2 separate regions of the Homo sapiens genome follow, and region 1 is linked to region 2. Evidence: promoter capture Hi-C in human tissues and cell types (Jung and others, 2019). All regions are on one chromosome and are shown on one strand. The core of a region is centred on a gene start or on the middle of the fragment in contact, and the rest is flanking DNA. Distances in the headings are between cores, read along the strand shown. Region 1 has its middle 84 kb from the start of PWRN4. Region 2 holds the start of NDN (necdin, MAGE family member).

Evidence for each region. Contacts are between HindIII fragments. The study calls those that stand out against the background at their distance.
Region 1: a fragment that was not itself captured here is called in contact with the fragment with the promoter of NDN in region 2 in 8 of the 25 tissues and cell types used here (IMR-90 fibroblasts, adrenal gland, dorsolateral prefrontal cortex and 5 more).

Annotation. Positions count from the first base shown.
Region 1 is chr15:23,889,435-23,892,489 of GRCh38, reverse strand. No RefSeq gene overlaps it. Among named protein-coding and RNA genes, the nearest start is that of PWRN4, 84 kb to the left of the region's middle. The HindIII fragment of the contact is 6,351 bases long and covers 1-3,055 here.
Region 2 is chr15:23,686,046-23,689,450 of GRCh38, reverse strand. NDN (necdin, MAGE family member) reads left to right here and starts at 2,146. Exons shown (of 1, transcript NM_002487.3): 1 at 2,146-3,405. The coding sequence starts at 2,234. The coding sequence ends at 3,199. The HindIII fragment of the contact is 8,447 bases long and covers 1-3,405 here.

The sequences.
Region 1 (3,055 bases), core at 420-2,919, 200 kb before region 2:
TATTATGAATGTATTTTTAAATACAGATATGAAAGGTATTAATATACAATATAAACATACAAATTCAGTTGTAGATAATGTTTATATATGCCCCCCTAAAATATACATAAGTGTTGAAGATATGTGCATGCCAAGACAAACAGCGAGAGCATATATTTCAAAGCAAGGCCTGAGTGGGCATGTGTTTGGGGTCAGCAAGCAAGATGATTGTTGAACAAACTTGATCTTTATGCAAAATAATGGAATTGCCCAATCGACCTCAGAGAGAAGGCAGGGGGCAACTGGTCTTGCTCCTGCAGATCCCACAACAGGCTCTGAGCTCAGATGCACAGGCTGTGGCCCCATCCTTGGCAGATGTGGTCCAGAGAAGGAGCAGGACCAACCATCGGAGCATCTGTGCTTCCAAGGGAGACACGCAGAGGTGTCTGTGTATGTTCCTTCCCTGCTGGCTGCTGCTCTCAGAGTAGAAAGTTCCTAAGGCTCCAGAAAGCAGGGAAGGGAAATGAGGAGGCGAGAGATTGAATGAAATTCAGCGAGAATGTACTAAAAAAAAACAAAGTTGGAAGTGGCATGGGAGGACTGCCTAAGATTCACAAGGGTGTTAAAGACATAAGCAACAGTTAGTAGTGTTGTAAAATTCTAAAATATCCTTATTTGCGGTACAACTGGGAATATCAGTGTAGGTACAGGGCATGGAGGTTTTACTCTTCTTTTTCTTTATGACACCATAACACAGTGTTTAAGAAAATGGGCTTTGAGGGAAAAATTCTTCTGTTAAATGAACTTTCTTAAGAACAAGACAGTGTGGTATGTGCACAGAGATAGAAAAATAAATCAATGAAAAAAATAAGAGAGTTAAAACACACACACACACACACACACACACACACACACACATATGCATATCTAAGCAATTTATAAAGGAGAAAATTGGGAAAAGACTAGTTATCAATACTGTTCCAGGAAATGGAATATCCATACAGGGGAAATAAAATCTGACCTTTGAGCTCATGTTACACACAAAAAGCAATTCCAGGTGGATCACAAACTTCAAATACAAAAACAATTTCCAGTAGTTAGACCCTAACTTAGGAAAATAACTTTATTACCGTGATATTTCTTTTCTTTCTTTTTTTTTTTTTTTGAGATGGAGTCTCGCTGAAGTGCAGTGGCACAATCTCGGCTAGCTGCAACATCTGCCTCCCATGTTCAAGTGATTCTCCTGTCTCAGCCTCCTGAGTAGCTGGGATTACAGGCATGCACCACCATGCCTGGCTACTTTTGGTATTTTTAGTAGAGACGGGGTTTCACCACGTTGGCCAGGCTGGTCTTGAACTCCTGACCTAAGTGATCCGCCCGCCTTGGTCCCCCAAGTGCTGGGATTACAGGCGTGAGCCACCATGCCCGGCCAATATTTCTTAAAGTAAGACCTGAAAGTATGTTTCATGTGAGGAAAAAGGTATGCTACTATTGTTGATGTCAGCAAAGACTCTAGAGATAGGCAGAATAAAGCCTAAGCTTCTTTCATTCCTTTCTTGTGGATCTTTAGGCTCAGCTTCAGAACTGAAACATGAGTGTGATCGTAATCCCTATATCTTGGCATGCTGTGAGGATTACTAATAATACTCAAAGCCTGTGATGAATAGAAGGTATATACTAACTACTAAATTAGTAGTTGATAATACTGACAGCTTTTTCTAAGTAATTGCAATATGTATCATTTGCACCAATTGAATGATGTATCATTACTTTATATATGACACTGGAATAATAAAACTACTTACCGATTATGCCACAGATCATTCTTATCACTTAACATTTTTTCTTATAATTGTTGAAAAAACTTTTCAATCTATATAAATGTAGACATTTGTCTTATATAAATCGTGTGATTACATGAGATGGAAACTATAAGCAGAATACATTAACAAAGTGAATTCTGAAATATCTCCCATGAAAAGATAAAGTTTTCTGAAATAGTTTTTAATTCATCCTCTCCATGATTTGTCCCATACAAACATCATTTGTCCTTATCAGAAGCTGTGATGATGCCACTTTTGTTATGAGGGTCACGTGACAGTCTCCATGAGATTATCTTTCCAAAATACTTACAGCCCCTCTGCAACTTTTGATGTTGATGATCTCACTGGAATGTGTCAATGGAAGGTTTTTAGACCAAGTGCATGTTCACATGAGGCTAATCACATCATGACTGCCTCCTCACAGTGGTGTTTTCATTATCATTTTTGAGATACAACCCTATTTGAGAAATGTGAGTTGTATAATCTGGCTTCAATGAAATACACTATTTTTTCTCTGTGACTCCTTCCTCCTCACTGTAAAATCATGGGGTTTATCTGCTGTATTTTGGTCTATTATTGAGAAACTTTTTTTTTTTTTTGAGATGTAGTCTTGCTCTGTCGCCAGGCTGGAGTGCAGTGGCATGATCTCAGCTCACTGCAACCTCTGCCTCCTGGGTTCAATCAATTCCCCTGCCTCAGCCTCCCAAGTAGCTGTGACTACAGGTGCCCGCCATCACACCCAGCTAATTTTTTGTATTTTAGTAGAGACGGGGTTTCACCATGTTGGCCAGGATGGTCTCCATCTCCTGACCTCCTGATCCGCCCACCTGGGACTCACAAAGTGCTGGGATTACAGGCATGAGCCACCGCACCCAGCCGAGAAAACATTCTTAAATATAGTTTAATATATATTGGCCAACTCCATTTGTCTTCTACTGAGGGATTAGAGATTTTAGAGTTATTAGTAGATTACTGGAACTCTTAAGTACTATAGTAAATTATTATAACTTTATATTGCTCAGGCATCCATTTTGAATAGAGATTTAACTTATTCAAAAAGCAGGGTTTAATCACCTAAGGCAAGGTTGCTAGTTTTTCACCTTCTCCCTGTTCCTTGGTGGGGTCTATCCAGACCCCTTCCACAACCTTCCACAACCACATCCTGGTGATGGCCTCTGTGGGACAGCTAGGTATAACACTTGTCTCACTTGGCTGACCCCTCACAACCCACATTTACTATGCAGTTATGCCTC
Region 2 (3,405 bases), core at 897-3,396:
TGACATGTGAGAATGCAGTTTTAATGAGATCACAATGTTAAAAACCATAGCCTATGGCCAAAGCCAAGTTGAGATTTAAATAGTAGGTTCAAACACTTTTCTTATTAAAAAATATATCAAATGAACTAAATATTTTATTTCTTTATTTATTTAATGTTTGAGACAGTCTCGCTCTGTTGCCCAGGCTGGAGTGCAGTGGCATGCTCTCAGCTGACTGCAAACTCCACCTCCCAGGTTCAAGCGAGTCTCCTGCCTCAGCCTGCCAAGCAGTTGGGATTAAGGGTGCCCACCACCACACCCGGCTAATTTTTGTATTTTTAGTAGAGACGGGGTTTTGCCACGTTGGCCAGGCTGGTCTCGACCTCCTGACCTCAGGTGATCTGCCCGCCTCACCTTCCCAAAGTGCTGGGATTACAGGCGTGAGCCACCGCACCTGGCCTAAATATTTTATTTAAATAGTTAGAAAATAATACATACCCAAACAAAATAAAGAATAATATTGATGGAGATTTAAATGCAATAAATGAGGATTATATTTATGAAGCATGGGGGTAATAAGTCTGTTCAAGAGACATTCTTAAAAACAATGAATATAATTAGCATATTTCTGTAAGATGTTCCCAAGAAAATGGTAGATATCTATAAATAGAAGAAGGAGAAAAAGGAGAAGTAGATGGAGAGGAGAAGGAGGAGGTGGAGGAGGGTGAGGAGGAGGAGAAAAGTGTTGAAATAATTCCAACTAAGACTGATATCTAGGAATTACCCTGGTGAAGTGGGAAGCTTAAGAGTCCTGTTGGAGGGACTGGTGTGGTAATGGCTCTGCCAAAAGTGTTATGTGCGTGCAAACCCAAAGAGAGAAAGCACAGAAAACCTTTCAACATCAACCTGCTTGAGGAAAAATAAAGTGGGAAAAGATACATACTCACAGTGAGGACTCTAGACATGTCAAGACAATTTTTAAATATGCTTTTGGCTTCGAGTGGCAATAACTAGATTCAAGACAGCATATTTAAGAAGCTGCTGATGAGAAGAAACCCGGGAAGAGCTGAAGGACCACATCAGCCCAGACCAAGGATGCTGAAGCAGCATTAAGGTCCCTGGTTTCAGATGCTCAGGCAATGACCCTTTTTTTCATGGAGAGCCTGTAGGAGTGACAGTTTTGTCTTTGCCCACTGGGAATCTGTTTTCCATACCTGGAAAACAGGGTTACCTATGTTTCCCCTGCTACCCTTTGGTCATCTCAGAGACACTACCAGATATTACCCATGGGACCTATTTTTTTTTTAAATCTCAGGAAAGACTTGGGTGTGGCTTCCAACGTGGAGGACTCAGTAGCTTCAGAGAGGGTCCTGAGAGAAGGTGAATTGAAGAATGAGGGTGCTGGGCAGAGGGAAAAGACATTATCATACAAGTTTGTGCTAAAAGATATAGCAATCCTTCTGCTATGGACTAAGTATGGAAAAAAATAAAATGGAATCAAAGTTACCCAAAGGAAGTGTAAAACCCAAATTTATGCCCGTTAAAGCATTAATGATGCTCTAAGTCCACTGCCTACTTAAAAAGTTCATAGTTCACATGGGTTGATAGGAAATTACGTTAACGACACACTGCATTTCCCCTTTTCTTATAGCCTATCTGATTTGGTAGGGAGTCGATCATTTTTTATTGGAATTTCTCAGGATTCCAACCTCAGACATCCACTTTACAGTTTACACATTTTCTTGGACAAGCCCGACTGTTCCTCTCACTGGTTCGCATAAAGCTCATGTTTACAAAGCCGCCCAGACCTTTCTCTGGGACTCTCATATTTAACTTAATTCTGGATATACCCAGGTAAGCGTTTCCCAAGAAACTTGACCCCAACATCCCAAAAACTTAAGGTATCTTTCCCTTAAACTGGCCCCTTCTCCAGTACGCATCCATCTCACTTCTCTCCTGCCCTAGATCTTCTCAGCCCAAACAGGAAACCCCGGGATCGCTCTCCCAGCAGGTGAAGCCTCGCCATGGACCCTCCCCGTCGGGGCCCCGCGCTGCCCCGCCCGCCCCCAGCCGCTGGCCAAGGCCGCGGTCGCGCAGGCGCAGTGCCGCGTCCCGCCGCCGCCCCGCCCTGCCCGTCGCTGCGGAAGGCGCCGCGCGCAGCAACGCGCACTTCCTCTCCAGGAATCCGCGGAGGGAGCGCAGGCTCGAAGAGCTCCTGGACGCAGAGGCCCTGCCCTTGCCAGACGGCGCAGACATGTCAGAACAAAGTAAGGATCTGAGCGACCCTAACTTTGCAGCCGAGGCCCCCAACTCCGAGGTGCACAGCAGCCCTGGGGTTTCGGAGGGGGTTCCTCCGTCCGCGACCCTGGCAGAGCCGCAGAGCCCTCCTCTAGGCCCGACGGCCGCTCCGCAGGCCGCGCCGCCTCCCCAGGCCCCGAACGACGAGGGCGACCCGAAGGCCCTGCAGCAGGCTGCGGAGGAGGGCCGCGCCCACCAGGCCCCGAGCGCGGCCCAGCCGGGCCCGGCACCGCCAGCCCCGGCGCAGCTGGTGCAGAAGGCGCACGAGCTCATGTGGTACGTGCTGGTCAAGGACCAGAAGAAGATGATCATCTGGTTTCCAGACATGGTGAAAGATGTCATCGGCAGCTACAAGAAGTGGTGCAGGAGCATCCTCCGGCGCACCAGCCTCATCCTCGCCCGGGTGTTCGGGCTGCACCTGAGGCTAACCAGCCTGCACACCATGGAGTTTGCGCTGGTCAAAGCGCTGGAGCCCGAGGAGCTGGACAGGGTGGCGCTGAGCAACCGCATGCCCATGACAGGCCTCCTGCTCATGATCCTGAGCCTCATCTACGTGAAGGGCCGCGGCGCCAGAGAGAGCGCCGTCTGGAACGTGCTGCGCATCCTGGGGCTGCGGCCCTGGAAGAAGCACTCCACCTTCGGGGACGTGCGGAAGCTCATCACTGAGGAGTTCGTCCAAATGAATTACCTGAAGTACCAGCGCGTCCCATACGTGGAGCCGCCCGAATACGAGTTCTTTTGGGGCTCCCGGGCCAGCCGCGAAATCACCAAGATGCAAATCATGGAGTTCCTGGCCAGGGTCTTTAAGAAAGACCCCCAGGCCTGGCCCTCCCGATACAGAGAAGCTCTGGAGGAGGCCAGAGCTCTGCGGGAGGCTAATCCCACTGCCCACTACCCTCGCAGCAGTGTCTCTGAGGACTAGCAAAGTCTGGAGGCAGATGAATGGTTTCTGACCCTCACCAGGGCTGTGGAAGGGTGGGGGTGGGTCATTATAGTATTCAGGATTTACAGTGCAGTATTCACGTGTAACTTTTAAGTTTTCAGTACAGTGCTTTTATACCTTTAATGCAATGTTGTATTCATTTGGGTACTATTGTGTAGTATTTAGGATGTATGCATGTTTGTTTA